Linked DNA regions of Homo sapiens: regions 2, 3 and 4 are each linked to region 1. The links are contacts of gene promoters, found by promoter capture Hi-C in human tissues and cell types (Jung and others, 2019). All regions are on one chromosome and are shown on one strand. The core of a region is centred on a gene start or on the middle of the fragment in contact, and the rest is flanking DNA. Distances in the headings are between cores, read along the strand shown. Region 1 holds the start of ASTN2 (astrotactin 2). Region 2 overlaps ASTN2 (astrotactin 2). Region 3 overlaps ASTN2 (astrotactin 2). Region 4 overlaps ASTN2 (astrotactin 2).

Region 1 (5,133 bases), core at 2,177-4,676:
TTGATAACTCCATGACCAAAATCAAGTTTCTCAGCTTCCCTGAGCCTCCGATTTCATACCTATAAAATAGGGATAAAAAGCCTTGCTCCAAATGTTGCTGAGATTATACATCAAAGCAGTAGTTATAATTTATTGAGCAGCTATTATGTGTTAAATGCTTTGTATAATTATTTCTAAAGCCTCACAACCACCATAAGGCAACAGTTGTTATCATCATTCATTGATATGCTACAAAAAGTTTTGGATCACAGAGCATGTGTTCAGAAGTATAAGTCATTTCCTGTGGACATTCCAGATTTGACACTGTCTGTGATATAAAGTTGGTACTCCTTGTCTGCCTTTTCTGTCTTGTCTTCAGTTACTCCCTCTCCCCCTCACTGAGCTTCATTTCCCATCATACACCTTGCTGTCTCTGCCCTCCCTTTGTTTCCACATTCTGTGTTCTCAGCCAGGTGTTTCAGTTGCAAGCAACAGAAAGCAATCCTGAATAATTTAAGCAGAAAGAGAATTCAGAATTCAGTTAAGTGATTATTAGATTCCTTAGAATCTCCAGAAAGGCATGGGATCTGGGTTTAAAGTGCATGAAGTCAAGAGCACCACTCCAAATCATAGCACAGAACTGTATGGGTGAAGATATGTTTCAGCTGCAGCCAAGCATAAATAAAAGGCACTTCACACTGTTGACATTGATATCACTGGGCTCCAAACAGTGCTATTAGAACCTTTTCGACTAGCAGAGACACCTGGATGTAACTGCCCCAACTATTGCCCTTTTAGCCGCCACTGGATTCTGCCTGATTCCGGCTTATTTTTCAGCATCTGGGGTGGGTGAATCTAACTGGTGAAGCCTGGGTCATGTGCCCAAGCTCTAGCTGCAGTGGAGGCTGAGAAAGTATCCAGAAATGTTAGCTTCTTCATGGGAGGTGGGCTGTGCCTTAAAAGATAAAACATTCTCTGATGTAGGAAAGGGATTTATTCATTTACTAAGCAGTTGCAAAGAATGCCAAATGCCAACTTTAACCTAGAATGCCCACTCCCTTGTTACTAATCTTTATGGTTCAATTCCAAAGCCACCGCCTCTGGGAAGCTTTCTTTGATTTCTCCAAGTACCTCATCTTAGGAAACACATGTCTGCCTGCCTGCCCATTACCTGAGATATTTATGTGCCTGTCTCTTTCCGGCATCCCACCCCCTCACCCCAATCATTATAAGCTTTCCAAAGGCAGGAGTTGTGTTTATCCATCCCTGCATCTCCATATAGCACCTGGTAGGCACCCTGAATATTTGGTGATGAATGAATGAATGAATGAAAGTGTTGGTCTCATTTGACAGGCCTTTGTACTAGAGGTCCATGAAGGACTTGCACAGACTCTGCCTTACATAAGGGAGCCCTTTTTTCCTGGTGTGCTCTTCTGTAAATGGACTATGTCAGCATATTTGAAGAAAGGGGCATAGAGAATCAGAAAGCCCCATTGCGGTGGATAGTGGCGGATTGTAAGGACACAAAGGAGAGACTGAGGGAGGCAGGGTGACATATTTTGGAGGAGTAAATGAACTAGAGCAGGCATCAGAGAGGCAGGAGACCATTTAGAATTAGAGGACTTGAAAGGCCAGATTCCACCCCAACCTCCACACATCCTTTGGGTTCACAGATTAGTAAACTGAGACAGGAGAAGTATACCTTACAAACCTCACAGGGAAGTAGATCCAACTGTGCTTATGCAGATTTACCTTTTACAGCATCTTTGATGGGTGGGGTTTTCCAAGGTCACTGAGGACAGTGTAATTTAAGGGAAACAGTCAAGGCTTGAAGCCTACTGTTCAAACCTCAGCTCTTCAGCTCATTTGCTATACGACCTTGGAAAATCCCTTCACCTCCCTGACCACCTGATCTCAGTTTCCTCACATGGAAAATGGGAATCATAATATCCATCTTTTTGGATTATGGTCATGTAAAAAAGCTAACATACGTACATGTCTAGCATTTGGAGAATGCTTTAAACACATTAAGTCCAAGGTCGCAAAACAGCTTTTGCTTTTTTCCTTATTTTCAGTGCTCTGCCTTTATCCAACGTTATTAAAAAATATATGATGAGAGAGGAGAAAAGCAATTTATATGAAGGGTTAAAGATAGAAAAGGGGAATGAGACAGAAGAGGGAAGAGCTAAGAGAAAAGTGAATGCATAGAGACAGCACAAAAGGTGCAGATGGGTAAGCTAGACAGAGATGAGAAGTTGCTCACAAATTATAGGAAAGAAGCATTTGTAAGATTAAAGTCAAGATGAGAAGGAAGGAAATGAATGGAGAGATGAAACAGAAAACAGAGACAGGGAAGATGAAGAAAAGTAGGGGAGTGGGGAAGGGGCTGCACGGCACTTGACCCATGCAGAGGTGTCCGCTCCCTGGAGGGTCTCAGGTATGTGGGTCAGAGACAGAGTCAGCCCAAGACCAAAGGGTGCTGAATCTGAGGACCTAGCTCAACTTGAGTCTAGAAAGACTGCAGGTGAAGAATTGGTGAGCACTCCCGTTCTCTGGGACTTGGGCAGAGGATCTAAAAGACCCGGGAGCCAAGGACAGACAGAATAGTAGGTCTCTACCTCACACCCTTTTCAGGAATTTCACACAGAGAGCAGAAGCAGCCAAGTAGAGCTGCTCCAAGCTGGGAGCAGGGATCCAAAATAAAAAAGCGTGAGTGGGCTGGCTTGCAGGGCGGCAGCTAGGGGGCCAGAACAGCCCGGCTTCAGTCAGTTGTGGGGTCGGCGTTAGACGGTGGAGTTCGACGCCCCTCTGTCCATTAGCAATTAGTGCTAGCACAAGGCCTGGATGGAGGGGAGAGGAAGGTTTGCGGGCAGTGGGAGAATGAATGCAGGAGTTGTGGCCAAGTGGGTGGGAAGGGGGCTCTGAGGCTACAGGAAGTTATTTCAGAGACTAGAAAAGGGTAGGAGATTGGAGAAAGGACTTGTTCTTGGGCCTGAGGGGAGACAAAGTTAAGTCTTGGCTATCCAGGGGGCTCCCTATCCCCAAGAAGGCGGGGCCTTGAGCAAGGCTGGGCCAAGGCGCGCCCCCAGGTGCAGCCTCTGGGTTGAGCCGAAGGTGGGGTGAAGCCAGGAGAACTGGGTTGAGTCAGGGGGGCTTGGGGGGGCCCGAGGGGGCCCTAAGTATTAGGAATTTGGGGAGTTTAGGGAGGGGTGTTGTGGCTAAAGAATGCTGTGAGGGCGGAATTGGGGGATCTTGGGAAAGGGGAGGGAGCCACTGGGACTTGCACGAGGCCGGGCGGAGCCTCCGAAACGCTCGGGGTCTGCGGGGGGAGCCGGAGATCGGGGACGGGCGGCTGGGCCCCGGGAGGCGGCGCGGGGGGGCGGTCCAGGGCCGATCGGGAGGCGGAGCCCGGAGCTGGGGGCTGCTGGCGAGCGGCTCTCTCCGCTCCTTAGCTCGGGCGTCCTGGTTCGCTTCGGCGTCCGCCGTCTCCGCAGCTGCCTCCTCTTCCTCCTTCGCCACCGCCGCCACCGCCGCCGCCGCCCGCAGCACCGCAGCCCCTCCCGCCATGGCCGCCGCCGGCGCCCGGCTCAGCCCCGGCCCCGGCTCGGGGCTCCGGGGGCGGCCGAGGCTCTGCTTCCACCCGGGGCCGCCGCCACTGCTGCCGCTGCTGCTGCTGTTCCTGCTCCTGCTGCCGCCGCCGCCGCTGCTGGCCGGCGCCACCGCCGCTGCCTCGCGGGAGCCCGACAGCCCGTGCCGGCTGAAGACCGTCACGGTGTCCACACTGCCCGCCCTGCGGGAGAGCGACATCGGCTGGAGCGGCGCCCGCGCCGGGGCCGGGGCTGGGACCGGGGCCGGAGCCGCCGCCGCCGCCGCGTCCCCGGGCTCTCCTGGCTCTGCCGGCACCGCCGCCGAGTCGCGCCTCCTGCTCTTTGTGCGTAACGAGCTGCCGGGGCGCATCGCGGTGCAGGACGACCTGGACAACACCGAGCTGCCCTTCTTCACCCTGGGTAAGGCTGGGCGCCGGCACGCGCTAGATCCCAAGGAACCCCGAGCCCCTGCGTCATGCCGGACGGGTGGGGGCGCCCTGGGGATCCCTGCCCGGGGCTGCCCCGAGTGGGGTTGGCAGAGGGTAGAGGAGGGGCCCAGAGGTCGCACAGGTGGTTGGAAACGAGCATGTGGGAGGAGGTCCTGGAGAGCGCGCGGCGGGAGCCTGGGGGCGTGCCAACCCTCCCGCAGTGGGAACCTGCCCCTCTGCCTCTCAGTCCCGACCTGGAGCTCTGCTTGATCCATCCCGGAAGCCGGAGACCCCATTCACTGAAGGTGCTCTGGCTAGGGGCCGGAGCATCCCAGATCCTAAGCCAGTTTCAGGTCGAGCCTCCCACTTCTCCGGGTACCGTCACTGGCCACCCGCCGTCACCGCCCCCTCGCTCTCGCCTCGGAGTTGCGGGTTCTGCCCTTCCAGATGGATTTTCATGAGAGTAGGAATGGAGTAGTTCCGTGTGGAATCGCTCAACCCGCAAAAGCGTGGCTTCCGCATGGGCTGAGTGACCTTGGCCAAGTCGCTTCCCTTCTCTGAGCCTCAGTTCTGGCCATCTGTGAAATAGGGCTGGAGAGACTTGAGTGGTTGCTGAGAACTGGGATTCCGACTCCGAGGTCTCCACGTTTAGAGCCTCCCTCTACCCCCGTTACCGCCTTCCCTTTCTACCCACCTCCAGGCAGAGAGCCGGTTTGTCCTTGCAGCTCACTCCCTGGGCTAATAATAATTACTTAAAGGCAAGAAAAAGGAGAGGAGAGGAGATGGGTGTGGGTGGGGGGCTCCAACGGAAAAGTTAATCAGAAAAGTTCGCCAGCAGCTTGCTGCCTGCTGGTTCCCTGCGCGAATCCCGGAGGAGTCGGCCCTTCAGTGGAGCTGTGGGAAGCGCAGCTGATTTCCCACCCGGGTAATTGATAGCTTAATTATCTCGGAGAGCGTTTACAAAAATGTTGTTCCCCTTAGCTCTCCCGCGCTCGCTGCTTGCTCGCTCTCCCCTCCCCTCTTGGGGGCGCGGGGCCTTATTGGTTGTCGGAGTCTGGCCAACAACAGCGCCCGTGAGGCGCCAGGGGCTCGCCCAGACCCGGAGCTCTTCTTCCCCGGGTCTTTTCCTCGGCGGGATC
Region 2 (5,292 bases), core at 2,665-5,164, 630 kb after region 1:
TCTAATTGCCTTTCTAAGCCTCAGTTTTCTCACCATGAAGTCAGGGAACATAACAGTGCCTGCCTCACAGGAGAATTATGAAGAGGAGAAAGAGGTGATGAGAAAAGTAAGGGTAGGCCGGGTGTGGGGGCTCACGCCTGCAATCCCAGCACTTTGGGAGGCCGAGGCAGGCAGATCATCTGAGGTCAGGAGTTCAAGACCAGCCTGGCCAACATGGTGAAACCCAGTCTTTACTAAAAACACAAAAATTAGCTGGGTGTGGTTGTGAGTGCCTGTAATCCAAACTACTCGGGAGGCTGAGGCAGGAGAATCGCTTGAACCAGGGAGGCAGATGTTGCAGTGAGCCAAGACCACGCCACTGCACTCTAGCCTGGGTGACAGAGTAAGACTCTATCTCAAAAAAAAAAAAAAAAAAAAAAAGAGAAAGAGAAAAGTCAGGTTAAGATGCCTTGTAAAGATGTGGGAGTATTAGTGACATTTTCCTCAACATGAATCCAGGGATCTGTGAGATACCACTTACTCCAAAATTGTGTTGTAGTGTGCGTCCTGTCACACTTGAAATCATGTGAGATGCAAATTTGCCAGCATTACTTTCTTTGTATTCCTTCCAGATAAATGAAACAGTAAGTCTATTCTAAGGTCACATTAATAAGCCCACACATGTGTATCAAGAAAATTAACTTTTAAGGAAATAGTTTTATTTCAAAGAGATGCCCTGAATTGAAATGTATGTAGTAACAGTTCTAATGAAAGATATGATCACAGTTTATTGGATGTGAATTTATACAGAAAGCTCCAAGGGCAGTGGCTGGGGTTTTATGTAACATCACTACTGAATAATTACTATTAATGATAATCTAGTGGAACACCTCAAAGGTGGCTTTTAAGAGTCCAAAATGAGCATTTATTTTTTTATGTTGCCTGAGATCCTCAGAGGAGCCCATTAAGTGGACAGTTAATTAGCAGGCACAAGCCAGGAGTCAAAGCTACAGGCATTTGAGTAGCCCAGGGCTGGTTAATTCATTGTATGCCTGAGGACTTTGAAAGAACCTTAAACCCTGAGTCAGCCTCTTCATTCTTTACTGAGTTCCCAGTGACCTTGAGGCTGCTTCCCTTTCTTTTTGATGCTTTCTAGTGTAGGAGGAAAGAAAGACGATGAAGTGATTGTTCTTACTTGTCATGCCGTGGTTCAGAGAACTAAAGTTGCTCTAAAGGATATCCCTGTAAGTTTCGATTAATTCCCTACTTCTTAGGAGTTAGTGAGGACCCAGCCACTGGGAATAAACAAGCCCAGAGACCATATAGGCATTTTGCAGCTGTATTTGCAAAGAAGGTGGAAACACAGCTTGAGAATTAAGCTAAATTGCAATTAAATTTGCTTCAGCTTTGTGCTCCAGCCAATCAGTACACATCAAGAGCTTATTATGTGACAGGTTCTGGGGATTCAGGCTGAACAAAACTCGGTCTAATGTTGGTGTAAAGGGAAAGTAATATACTTTTTTATTTTTTGTATTATCTAAGGCTGTGTTCAAACTTGTTTTTTACTGTCACCCCTTGTCATAGAAAAAAAATAGGATTGAATTCTTCTTAATGAGAGAAATTAAATACTAAGGGTCACAGTTTTATTGGGTAGAGTTAGACATTGGAGGACCACAAGCCATTGTATTGTCTAAGACAATTTCTGCGACTACTGAGAATGCATGATGTTAGTGGATTTGCAAGTGTCATTTTATAAATGAGGTAACTGGGTCTCAAAGAGATCTGATGACTTGACTGTCATCACATAGCTGGTGTCAGAGCCTTACTTACTGGATCTTTCTGACACTTGGATGTTCTTTTCCGTATTCCACTCAGATAGGGTTATTTTTAATATATATTTTAATGTACAAATACTACTTCTATATATTTATGAGATAGAATGTGATGTTTTGACATATGTGCTCACTGTGGAATGATTAAATCAAGCTAATAAACATGTTCATCATCTCACATACTTTTTGTGATGAGAATATTAAAAAACTTTTCAAAGCAAATTTTTGAAATATATAATCCATTATTAACGATGGTCACCACACTGAGCAATGGACTAAAACTTGCTCCTCCTGTCTAATCGAAACATTGTACCCTTTGACCAATCTCTCCCTATTCTTCATCTCCCCGCAATTCCTCATCTTCTTCCCACCCCCTGCCTCTGATAACCACCATTCTACTCTCTAATACGAGTTTGACTTTTTAGATTCCACATACAAGTGAGAACATGCAGTATTTGTCTTTCTGTGTTTGGCTTATTTCACTTAGCATGATGTCCTCCAGGTTCAGATAGGATTTTAAAAATATATTTTTTTATTTTAAACAGTTTTAGATTTATAGATAAACCACAAAGATAGTACAGAGAGTTTCCATATACCCTGCAATCAGTTTCCCATAGCATCCTCTTATATTTTTATGGTACATTTGTTATAATTAATAAATCAATATTGATACATTATTATTACCTAAAGTTCATACTTTATTCAGATTTCCTTAGTTTTTATCTGATGTCCTTTTTCTGATACAGGAGCCCATTCAGCATACAGACATCAAAGCAAAATGACACTGGATGATGTTAAACAGGCAAGAAAGACTTTATTCAAGGCTATTGCAATAGAGGAAGGAGAGAGGTCTGAACTCAATTTCACTGAAACTGAAAAGGACAGGAGGGTTTTTAATTGCTGGAGTAAGTGGAAAAGTACTGGAGGACATTAGGAGATTGAACAATAGGATATGTCCAGCACATTGAGTTATTCTTGACTTTGCAAATGTATTTCTCTGTGATTAGGCCATCTGTGTTTGCTAATTGGTGTCCATGGAAGTTGGGCTTCCACCCTTCCACAAAGACTAAGAGATAGGGGTACTGTCTTCCTTGATGATTACATTTCAAAGAAATAGCTCCCACGTCCTTGAGAAAGACAGTCCTAGATTGTAAAACTGGCAAGAAACTTTATAAAAGATTTATGTCTTAAAGGGGCAGAGAAAGAATTTACAATTGCAAGTTTCTAAAGTAAATGCTTTAAGAAAAGGCAGGTCAGGGATCTAGAGACTGGAGAAGCCTGCCTGGTGTTTAGTCAAGCTGATGGGAAGCTTAAGAGCATCTTGGTCACCATCTCACACTGAGTTGTCCATCTCCTTAGCTCCGCTTGGCTGCGACAGTTTGGTAGGCATATGTATTAGTTCATTCTCATGCTACTGTAAGGACATACCCAAGACTGGGTATTTTGTAAAGGAAAGAGGTTTAATGGACTCACAGTTCCCCATGGCTGGGGAGGCCTTAAGAAACTTACAGTCATGGCGGAAGCTACGTCTTCACAGGGCAGCAGGAAAGAGAATGAGTGTCCAGTGAAAGGGGAAGCCCCTTTTAAAACCACCAGCTCTCTTTAGAACTGACTGACTATTATGAGAACAGGATGGGGGAAATGGCCCCCATGACTCAATTATCTTCACCTGGTCTCTCCCAGGACCCATGACTCAATTATCTTCACCTGGTCTCTCCCAGGACCCATGGAGATAATGGGAACCACAATTCAAGATGAGATTTCAGTGGGGACACAGCCAAACCATATCAGCATATTTTTAAACTGATTTCTTTACAGGCATTAAAGTTACAAAGTTTAAAAACACAAACAGTATAAAAGACATTCAATGAGGAATGTCACTCCTTTCTCAGTTTTTTTTCTATCCTTTTCCCCTATCCCCCATTTTTATTAGTTTCTTGGGTATCTCTCCAGTATTTAGGTAGTAGTGATTGTAGTAACAAGAGTAACAAGTAACAGTAGTGATTGTAGTAATAAGAGTAACCAGATAACAATGACACACTGCACCAGACACTATTGTATCTTCACTCTATCAAAAATATTTTTTGAGCACTTATTCTATGACACTGACTGTTCTAGGAAACCAGGAAGACAATAGTGAACAAAATATATAAAAACCCCTGCTCTGAAGGTTTATATTCTAGTGTAGGGGACAATCAACAAATAAATATACACCCTGTCAGGTACATACACTGTGGAGAAAAGCAGGTTGAGTTAAGGGTACTAGAGGGTTTTAGGCAGGGGATTCTATGTTTTACAGGCTGGAAGACTTACTTGACAAGGTGACGTTTGTATAAAGATCTGAAACAAGGCAGTGAACTATGCACATATCTGGGGAACAGCTTCCAGGTAGAAGGCACACCGAGTTCAAAGACCCTTGGCATTTTCTGTGGACCAAAAGGAGCCTCGGTGGATAGAACAGAGGGGAAGGAGGCGGGGCAAGTAGTAGGAAAAAAGGTTACAAATAAAGAGGCAATGGGTACCAACTGGGGAAGTATGGGCCATTTTGTATAGGGTCCTGTGGGACTCCTAAATGCAGTAGCTTGAATTTTACTCTGAGTGAGAAGGAAACCAAGCTAGTGCATTATTTGAGCAGAAAAGGTCTATAATCTGACTGGGGTGTGAAGAATAGACGTTAGTGGGCAGGGTGAAATCAGGGAAAGCAGTTCCCAGGCTACTTCTGTGGTCCAGATGTCAGACGACTGTGGATTGGAGCATGTTCAGACAAGTCAGCATGGAGAGAGGTGGGCAGATTCTGTATGTATTCTGAAGGTGGGACAACTAGATTTACTGATGAGGGAGAGAAAGGAGGGAGGCAAGGTTAGTGCCCTGAATTTTGCCTGAGCAGTTGGACAGACGGATGTGCCATTGATGGAGACAGGAAAGCCCACAGGAGGAGCAGGCACAAGGGAGGGGAATAGAAAGAGAAATTTGTTTTTGATAATGTTAAAAGATGAACTTGATTGTGAAACATTGCAATCATTTATACAAGTAGACCATAGTGTGATGGAACCCCAGGCACTCATCATCCGGCGTCAATAGCCATCATCTGGCCATGTCTAATATATATTCTTATGGTGATGTCAGGAAGCCAGTAGGATATACCAGTTCAGAAGAGAAACATGACTTGAAATGTACATTTCAGATTATTTAGCATGTAGATGACAGAAAAGAAATGAGAGGACACAAACTCACTAGGGAGTAGATAGAGAAGAGAGGAGCCTGAGCCCTGAGTCCTGCAGTTTAACATCGGAGAGGTGAAGAGCCACCAGCAAAGGAGACTGAGGATGAGCTCCCAGTGACACAAGAAGAGACCCAGGCAGCAGCTTCACTGTCCAAACGCATTCAGTTCTACAGACACCTAGAGGAGCTGTCAACCTTTTCCCCTCCCTTATTTTTTAACAGATGATGACACTGAATTGTTAAGAGACTGAATAATTTT
Region 3 (4,805 bases), core at 423-2,922, 520 kb after region 1:
TTGGAAAAGTTATTTCCAAAATAACTTTAAATGAGTTTGTGTTGTCACTTCAGTCCTTTAAAAATACTTTTCCAGATATGTAACCTACCCATAGGAATGCTGTAATGTGTGCTTGTTTTTTTTAAATGGTGTCAGACTATATATAACATTCTGCATCTTGATTTTTTTTTTTACTCTCAGCAATATTTTTTGAACTCTGTTCATGGTGACACATATAGATTCAGTTCGTTCCTTTTAAGTGCAGGAGAACATTCCGGCATATGAATATGCCAGTTTTATTCAGCGATGTCCTAACTGAAGAGTATTTAGGTTGTTTTCAGTTTTTTGCTACTACAAACAATGCCTCAGTGATCACTTAGTGCATGTACATCTTTGTGTGTATGTTCAAGCACTTGAAAAGCTCACAGTTAAACGCTAACAAGTGGAATGCTCATCATGTATCATTTTTATCTGTGTGAGAAGCAGTTTCCTAAATGGCCTGTAATCCTTGATTGTGAGTTTGACCATCTGGTTTTCAGAATTACTGGCACTCAGTCTGGGAGGGAATGTGAAGATTCAAGCCTCGCTTTTTAGAGTTAGACCCTGATTGCCCAGAGAGGAGATTGACTTGACAATCGTCACAGAGCACAGAGCTTGATCTTGCAGTCCTTCGCCTGGTATTACCACTTGCCATGTGTCCTTCCCATCTACATTTGGTCCTTGACAGCTGTCACCTGCACCTTCAGTGCGCTGCACCTAAATCTGTCTGCCTGAGGTTATTTTTTTGGGAGCAGGTGGGCAGTGATGATGGCCTTAGGCACAATCCACAGCAAAAGATGAACAGGAGGTTGGTAGAAAAATATGCCACATTTCTTGCCCCTTCACAGAAAGATTCAGGGTTGTATCTTACCCAGTCTCTCAGAGAGACCATAACGAGATCGAGTTCTTGTTGCCCACCTGGTAGCCCCCTCATTAACACACTGATATGGTTTGGCTCTGTGTCCCCACGCAAATCTCATCTCGAATTGTAATCCACATGTGTCAAGGGAGGAAGGTGATTGGATCACTGGGATGGTGTCCCCATGCTGTTCTCATGATGGTAAATGAGTGAGTTCTCATGAGATCTAATGGTCTTATAAATGGCAGTTTTCCCTGCCCTCTTCTCTTACCTGCCACCATGTGAGACGTCCCTGCTTCCCCTTCTGCCATGATTGTAAGTTTCCCAAGACCTCCCCAGCCATGTGGAACTGTGAGTCAATTAAACCTCTTTTTTAATAAATTACCCAGTCTAGGAGGGGCACGGCAGCTCATGCCTGTAATCCCAGCACTTTGGGAGGCTGAGGCAGGCGGATCACCTGAGGTCAAGAGTTTGAGACCATCCTGGCCAACATGGTGAAACCCTGTCTCTACTAAAAACACATAAAATTAGCCAGGCACCTGTAATCCCAGCTACTCTGGAGGCTGAGGCAGGAGGATTGCTTGAACCTGGGAGGCGGAGTAGGCCAAGATAATGCCATTGCACTCCAGCCTGGGCAACAAGAGGGAAACTCCATCTCATAAAAAAATCAAAATAAAAATTTAAAAAATAAATTACCTAGCCTCAGGTATTTCTTTATAGTAGTATGAAAATGAACTAATACATACACCCTTGTTTGCTTTCCTCCATTCCTTGGCTCAATTCTCAGTCCCTCACTTGCTTCCTGGAATCACCTCCCAAATCAACTACTATTACCACATTCCTTAGCTCTGGGTCAGCTCTCATAGAACTCAATCCAAGATTTCATCTATATTCCAGGTTCTGTGCTTGGCAAATAGAATACACTTATGAATAATATGTGATTTTCTGCACTTAACAAGGACACTTAATGACTCAGGTCTTCTGACTATTTGTTTATTTGTTTGTCTTGCCATATCATATCCATGCATTTAAATTCAATGGCATTTATTGTTTTTTAAAAATCAATTGGTCTTCTCACAGTCTGACTAAATGAAGTTTTATTGTAATAACCTAATTCCACTCCCTTTTTTTATGTAAAGACATGACTAAAATAATAATCCTTACACACACATTTTAACTGGAAACTGAGCCACTGCCCCAGTGCTCTATTGGCATCTCCATTTTTCTGATATTTATGTTTCTCCTCCCTCTGCTCTTAGTAAATGTTGATGTTCAGTTCACCCTGATCAGTATTTAGCCCTTCTGGTCAATTTATCTTATTTATTGATCTAAGCAGAAAATCAATACAGTCTTCATTTGCTGTCCTGTTGAATATAGGAGAATTTGATTCTGCAGAAACTATGCCCAGATTACTAAGACCTTGATAGGATACTACTACCAAACTCCTTTCAGAAAGCCTTCCAGGATCCAGTTCTAACTCACATCCTTTGCCCCTGTGCCAAAACCATGACCGCTTCCACTTCCACCCTCTTATGAATAGATACAGAGCATCCCTTTGGTCTCCTAGCAAAGACTTGACCCCTGGTGCTTACTAAGTACAAGTTGAGTATCCCCTTATCTGAAATGCTTGGGACTAGAGAAGTGTTTCAGATTTCTGACTTTTTCAGATTTTGGAATATTTGCATAGACATAAAGAAATATCCTGGAGATGGGACCCAAGTCTAAACATGAAATTCATATGTTTCATATACACCTTATGCATATAGCCTGAAGGGAATTGTATACAATAGTTTTAACAATCCTGTGCATTAAATAAAGTGTGTGTACATTGAACCGGCAGAAAGAAAAGGTATGGAATTTTCCACCTGAGGTGTCATGTCGCACTCAAAAAGTTTCCAATTTTGGAGCATTTCAAATTTCAGATTATTGGATTAGGGATGCTCAATCTGTACAAATAAATGTATTAAGCTTGCTTTCAGAATGTATTGGTTTTCAGAGAATTCTACCAACTCATGGGACCACTTACATAAATGTGCAGGGAGGTAAAATGCCTTTGCAATAAATAAATAACCCAAGAACCTTTTGGAAAATCAGTTGCTTCTACATCATAGTATCTATTGTGGAGCCTTAAATTCATACTGTTTGCAGAGGTTTGGGTGTCAGGAAGACCTTGAATTCTAATCCCATCTCCTCCCCTGATTAAATGAGACATTGCGCAAATAACCTACCCTCTCTGAACTTCTTTACTGACCTACAACATGAGAATAGGCTGGGCATCGGTGGCTCTCGTCTGTAATCATAGCACTTTAGGAGGCCAAGGCAGAAGAATCACTTGAGCCCAGGATCCCAGGAGGCCAGCCCAGGCATGGTGGCACCCACCCGTAGTCCCAGCAACTTGGGAGGTTGAGGCAGGAGGATCGCTTGAGCCTGGGAGGTCAAAGTTGCAGTGAGCCATGTTTATGCAACTGTACTCCAGCCTGGGTGATAGAGTGAGACCCTGTCTCAATAACTAAATAAACAAATAAAATTAGAACAATGGTAATATTTTATCTATCATCAGGATTTTCTCAGAATTACAAATCATGCTGGTCAAACTCATAGTGGGGTACTGGCTCCTATCTTTATGTGATAACTGTCATTTGGCTATTTTTCTCCTTTTCTTTTAAATTGTAATGGAGTCATTGACTTTTTTTTAAATAGGTACTTACAAGTCTTTCAGTCACCATGAAATATCAATTACCATCCACCCTGTCCCTACCTACCACTTCCTTTGAAGAACAAGAATAATGCCCAACTAAACTCTGGGTTCAGGGGCAGAAAGGAGGCCCACATGTTTTTGATCTAGGAACTGGCAAGTAAATGTCTGGGATTTTTTTGGTAGTGGATTCTCCCTCTAACCTGTGCTTGTGCAGGGCAGGACACTAAGAAGGCTCTCAGTCAGTCCTAGAATGGAAGTAGGGAAGGCTAGTCATTGCTTTTCTGCAGATGCTCACTCAAATGAAGTGAAAAGCAAACACCCAGGCCATTGTGTGGCGAGGTAGTCAGTGTGCTAATGGGAAAAATGTGGATGCTCAAGCAGGGTTCTGACCAAGCGTGGGCCTGGGGGCAGACGTTGAGTGTTCAGAAAAGCTTCAAAGGCTGATCTCTCTTGGTATCCCTAAATCAGCAGGAGTTAACCTGGCAGTGGGCTTGGGATAGAGAAAGCAATTATGGACCTAAGAAGCAGGAAGTATGGTGGCTTGGAAATGGATAGATTTGGCCTGTTGCATAAAGGGAAATAATTACTAAGGTGAGGAGGGAAGAGAGGAGAGAGGGAGGGAGAGGTGTTGAGGTAGGGAATGATACTAATAATAACTGCATGTCTTGGTGAGTGCTCACTCCATGCAGGCACCTACCAGGAACCCTGACACATCATCGTATTGAGTTCAAACAATACCAAGTAGAGCCAGGTTCTACTAGCATCTCGGTTTACAACTGGGGGACTGAGGCTGGAAGAGTCAGTGACCTGTGCAAAGTCACCTAGCTAGTAAGAGGGTATAGCCAGAATTACTCCTAGATCTCTCCTGCTTTAGAGTGGGCAGAATCTTAGGCACCTGCAGTCCTGCTGAGCTTCCCATCAGGGCACTAATTATAATGGAGAAAAACTTCCAACAACCAAATGTTCTCTAATAGGGGATTGGATCATTTAATTGGGCAACTTCAAAATAGCCATGAAAATAATGTGTTTGAAAGAAACAAAAAAGTGTCCTGAAATGTCCTTGGAGTAAGATTAAGGAAAAAGAAGAATATGAAGGTATATGTATAGTAAGATTCTAAAGTGTGTGTGTGTGTGTGTGTGTGTGTGTGTGTGTGATACACCTTTAGTAGATTTTGGCAACACTTCAATGAGTAAAACAGATAAAAACTCATGCTCTTGTGTAATTTACAT
Region 4 (4,909 bases), core at 1,831-4,330, 610 kb after region 1:
AAAAAGAAGGGGATATACTTTACCAAGGCTCTGAGACAGGGCCCTTTTCCAAGAGATTTCCCCACTGTACTATGGAAAGGAACATTTGAACGTTAGAAAGACCATCAGTGCATCAGTGCAGTACGCCAGGGATTAGGGGAAAGCAAGGAAACAGTGACAGTTTGCTTCATGCATGAGACTTCCTGGCTTTTCACTAGAGTGATCTTGGGTCAGGTTTCCAGCTATGCTTGTCTTCTTTCTGCCTCCAGTTCAGCTCTATATCTGTAGCATCAGCTACTGGTTCCCACAACCTGTGTACATTTTCTTTCCAAACCACCATACAGAGCCTCTTCCTTCTCCCATCTGAGTTCCTGAGTCCCTTTGCGGTTAGCTTCAATGAATCTTTGCTACACCCTTTGAAAAAAGGCAAATAAGAGATTGCCTGCTGTTTACTTTCTCAAACTGACATACCAACCAGGGTCATTTTGTGCACATAGAAAGCACTAGATTTGGAGGAGACAAAAATAGACAAACATCCCTTTTTCTAACAGAACTGAATTTGAATATCAACTTTGCTACTTACTCACAGTACTATATGCTTTATTTCTTGGCTCCTTATTTTGCTTATGTGTAAAGCAGAAATTATGATATTACTCTTTCTTTCTTCATGGTTAGATAATAAATACATAAAGTGTTCAGTGAATAGTACATGCTCAATAAATAGAAATAACACCATTACTACCACTATTATGATTATTGTGTTAAGTATATTGCAATTCCTGTTTTTTTTGTGGCCAATGTATCATGTGACCTTATAGCATCCTACTGAATTAAGGTAGAAGTGTCTACTCTATTTTACACATGAGGAAACTGGGGATCATAGAAGTTAAATGACTCACTCATGTTCATATAGGTCACAAGGAGAAAAATGGCATTTGTACAGGTCTGTCCAATCTCACAGACCATTCTCTTGTCTGTCTTATTTATGTGCACCATACTCCTAGTGCTTAGCGCTGAACTTTGAAAAGGTAGACACTCATAGAATTCCAGTTTCTGGAATGATTTTTCAGGGGCTGAGATCTCTGATTTCTTGCCCCAACCATCCCCATCCCCTCCAGCCCATGCCTCTCTGAGATTTGTCACTGCAAATCTTTTCAAATTGCAAATATTGTTTCCACACCTTATTCAGATGCCTGTTTTGTCCATAGATGAGGCCACCCCTGTCTCAAAGGCTTGTCAAGGGCTTTTCTGGCTGTTAGACCAACGGAGGCTGCTAAAATCCCTAAGTGAACAGAAGCCTTGTGCTGTCCATGGTCCTGGAAGGTTTCACCTCTGAGCTACCAGGATGATAAAAACCTTGTATTTGCTACAGTCTTCAACCTTGGTTGACAGATGTACTGGGAATAGATTCTGGTTTGAGACACTAGTTGATGATTCCCTGTGAATTGGTATGTCATGCTTTTTAAAGTCTGTATGTTCATGGGAAACAGTCTTTAAATTTGCTTTGTGTGTGAACGTGCACGCTGGTGTCCCCTTGACTCCTCCAAAATGTCACAAATGACTTTCCTTGAATTTACCAATTTGCAGTATTAATGTGCTTCTCTCTAGACATCTGTGCCCTAGATAGATTCCAGGTAGAATAGCTGTCTCCTTCCTAAACTCTGACCTGTTTTGCAGGGAAAGGAGGCCTTGGTTTTAGGTCACCCCCAATGGGGGCATTCAGGATGTGAAGCTAATTCTGAGCTCTGTTTTATCATACAGTTGCGTGGAGGAGTACAAACTGGCTCCTGATGGAAAATCCTGCTTAATGCTCTCAGATGTCTGCGAGGGCCCCAAGTGCCTCAAACCTGACTCCAAATTCAATGATACCCTCTTTGGAGAGATGCTACATGGTTACAACAACCGGACCCAGCATGTGAACCAAGGCCAAGTCTTCCAGATGACCTTTAGGTATGCTGTAGATACTTGCACATTGCTTGTCTGAGTCACTGACAAACAACCTGGGCACAGGGAGGAAGCCATGGGCACAATGGGGTAGAGACCTGTTATTCTGGCCAGCATCACTTTAAGCTCACAGGTACCCTCTTAAGGAGTGTGGAAAGTCATCAAACTTTATTCCATAAGGTTTCTTTTTCATGGTCCTAGCATATATTTGTCCCACTTTGCCATTTTCCTAGTTCTAGCCCCACATTTTAAATTCAATCTTAAATTATCATATAAGTACAGTTAATGGCATTTTGAAAAACATTAATTAATCTTTCAGTCTACTGAAAAATAAGTATTTTATGCATGCTGTTCAGGCAGTTCAAAAATAAGGACATTTAATGTAGTAGAAAATAAAAATCGCATCACCCAGAAATACCTAGAATTAACATTTTCCTGAATGCTCTTAAAATTTCTACTTCTCTCTTTCTCTCTCTGTTTTTTCCTGTCTGCCTACACACACACACACACACACACACACACACACACTCCCCAAATCCCAGTAAAGCTGTTTAGAAATTGCTTTTTTCACTCAATAGTGAGTGACGGCTAGGTTGGCCAGATTATGTGAGGATTAAAGATGCAAGATATTGGTAAAGGGTTTTTGGACAGTTGAAACTGTTCTGCCTAAAGAAGAGAAACTTTAAGTGGTGACTTACTTATGCCTCAAAGCTTGAAGAACCATAAGCTAGTAGAGTGAGATTTGTTGTATGTATGGAGAAGGATTATCTAAACACACACTCACACACACACACACGTACACACACACATTATACTTTTAACCATGTTTGCATAAAAAAAAAGATATTATCACAAAGCAAGGCTCTCCTAATCATTTGAGGTCATATCAATAAAAGTCAGAACTAGTAATAAGTCACCATTATAATAATCATTGTTTCCATTCCATCATCTTACTAATAGTAGTGATAATTGTATTATGAGTGGTAATAAATGGTTACCATTTATTAATAATTATTCTGTGTCAAGTTCTTTACTACTAACTACTAACAATAATAATGTCCACTAACATTAATTCAGCATACACGAAAGGGTTTTCTAAGTATTTTTTGTCTATTAACTTATGTAATCCTCACAATGATCCTGTGAGGCAGGAGTCATTATCATCCTTTTTATACAGAAGAGAAAGAGAAATCTAGAGTAGCTTTCCAAAGACTCCCTTCTAGGAAGTAGGAGAGCCAAGATAATTTCATTTTAGCTTCATTATTAGAATCACTGGAGGCACTATGACCTCCATTTTACAATTGAGAAATTAATCCAGAGAGGTTGAGTGACTTTCTCAAGATCATCATCTAGTAAGAGGTAGAGTCAGGAATCAGATGTAACTCCAGCTGACTCTAAAACCTTGCTCTTGTATTTCAATTCAGCATACCCTCTTACTCCCATTTTACAGAATGAGAATGGAGATGTGAATTCACTAAAACCGTTCATCCTTGTAATCATCATATACTCTTTGAGAATCTCCTCTTTCTCATATACCATGCTGGTTATTGGGCATAAGATGGAAAAGGAGATAGAAATGGCCCCTCTGACACTTTAGGTATCGTTGGCAGGTGGATCCATGACTCAGTTGCTCAAGCAGAGACTGAATGCTACTTTACTGGAAAAGCTCCGAGCCAGGCATGGTGGCTCACACCTGTAATTCCAACACTTGTGGGAGGCCTAGGTGGGAGGATCACTTGAGCCCAGGAGTTTGAGAACAGCCTAGGTAACTTTGCAAGACTCCATCTCTGCTAACTTTTTTTTTTTTTAAACTGGGCTGGGTGTGGTGGCTCACACCTGTAATCCCAGCACTTTGGGAGGCTGAGGCAGGCGGATCATGAGGTAAGGAGATTGAGACCATCCTGGCTAACACAATGAAACCCCATCGCTACTAAAAATACAAAAAAATAGCCAGGCGTAGTGGCAGGCGCCTGTAGTCCCAGCTACTCAGGAGGCTGAGGCAGGAGAATAGCATGAACCCAGGAGGCGGAGCTTGCAGTGAGCTGAGATTACGCCACTGCACTCCAGCCTGGATGACAGAGTGAGACTCCGTCTAAAAAAAAAAAAAAAAAAAAATATATATATATATATATATATATATATATATATATATATATTATTCGAACTTGGTGGTACATGTCTGTAGTCCCAGCTACTTGGGAGGCTGAAGCAGGACCATCACTTGAGCCTGGCCATTCAAGGTTACAGTGAGCTATGATCATGCCACTGCAATCCAGTCTGGGCAACAGAGTGAACACTTGTCTCTATTTAAAAAAAAAAAAAGAACAAAAATCAGGAAAAGCTCTGGGAAAAATTTAAGGATAGTCTGGATGAATTGCAGTTCAATGCTGAGATTCTACAATACTAGTTTTCTATAATTTTAATGGTCTATGAAAGTGTGTCTTGAGCAACATCATGGATAGAATAATGTTGCTTGGAATACAAAATAAAAAAATAAAGGAATTATTCCTTCTCTTTGAGGAAGAAATTTAAAAGCTTGCAAGATGACACACACAAGTTTTAAAAAAATAGAAAAATTTAATTTGCAAAGCAGTGTTCCAAGGAAAGACGATGGTTTCCAAAGAGTTCCCATGGAAGCCTGTTGAAAGGAATTAGAAGGAAAGATAAAGGGCTTCTCAAAGGACAAAGTTTGTGAACTGAGGTTTGAAGTGATAGCAAAGAATAGTGCCTCTTGGGACAGATAAGAGTTAAAGGGCATTTTCCTGTCCAGGAAGGAGCCTGCAAAGGCCCAGACATATGGATAAGCAAGGGTGGGAGTCAAGAAAACAGACTGCCAATGAACATGCCTTCAAATCCCAGCCCCACCCATGAGAAGCATAATTCTACTGCTTCATCTTTAAAATGGGGTGCTTTTAACAGAAGCCAGCCATTTCCATAGGTACATTGTATGTTTTATGGAGTTTCATTTCTCACAGCAGCTCTCAGA

The links. Contacts are between HindIII fragments. The study calls those that stand out against the background at their distance.
Region 2: a contact is called between a fragment that was not itself captured here and the fragment with the promoter of ASTN2 in region 1, in 3 of the 25 tissues and cell types used here (H1 embryonic stem cells, mesenchymal stem cells and neural progenitor cells).
Region 3: a fragment that was not itself captured here is called in contact with the fragment with the promoter of ASTN2 in region 1 in 2 of the 25 tissues and cell types used here (H1 embryonic stem cells and lymphoblastoid cells).
Region 4: a fragment that was not itself captured here is called in contact with the fragment with the promoter of ASTN2 in region 1 in 2 of the 25 tissues and cell types used here (dorsolateral prefrontal cortex and mesenchymal stem cells).

What each region holds. Positions count from the first base shown.
Region 1 is chr9:117,413,350-117,418,482 of GRCh38, reverse strand. It overlaps ASTN2 (astrotactin 2), which reads left to right and starts at 3,426. Exons shown (of 23, transcript NM_001365068.1): 1 at 3,426-3,986. The coding sequence starts at 3,545. The HindIII fragment of the contact is 9,596 bases long and covers 1-5,133 here.
Region 2 is chr9:116,785,049-116,790,340 of GRCh38, reverse strand. The region is part of intron 13 of ASTN2 (astrotactin 2); the gene reads left to right. Among named protein-coding and RNA genes, the nearest start is that of TRIM32, 100 kb to the right of the region's middle. The HindIII fragment of the contact is 6,664 bases long and covers 583-5,292 here.
Region 3 is chr9:116,893,084-116,897,888 of GRCh38, reverse strand. All of the region lies in intron 10 of ASTN2 (astrotactin 2), which reads left to right. Among named protein-coding and RNA genes, the nearest start is that of TRIM32, 210 kb to the right of the region's middle. The HindIII fragment of the contact is 3,508 bases long and covers 1-3,426 here.
Region 4 is chr9:116,802,652-116,807,560 of GRCh38, reverse strand. ASTN2 (astrotactin 2) reads left to right here. Exons shown (of 23, transcript NM_001365068.1): 13 at 1,741-1,929. Among named protein-coding and RNA genes, the nearest start is that of TRIM32, 120 kb to the right of the region's middle. The HindIII fragment of the contact is 5,964 bases long and covers 99-4,909 here.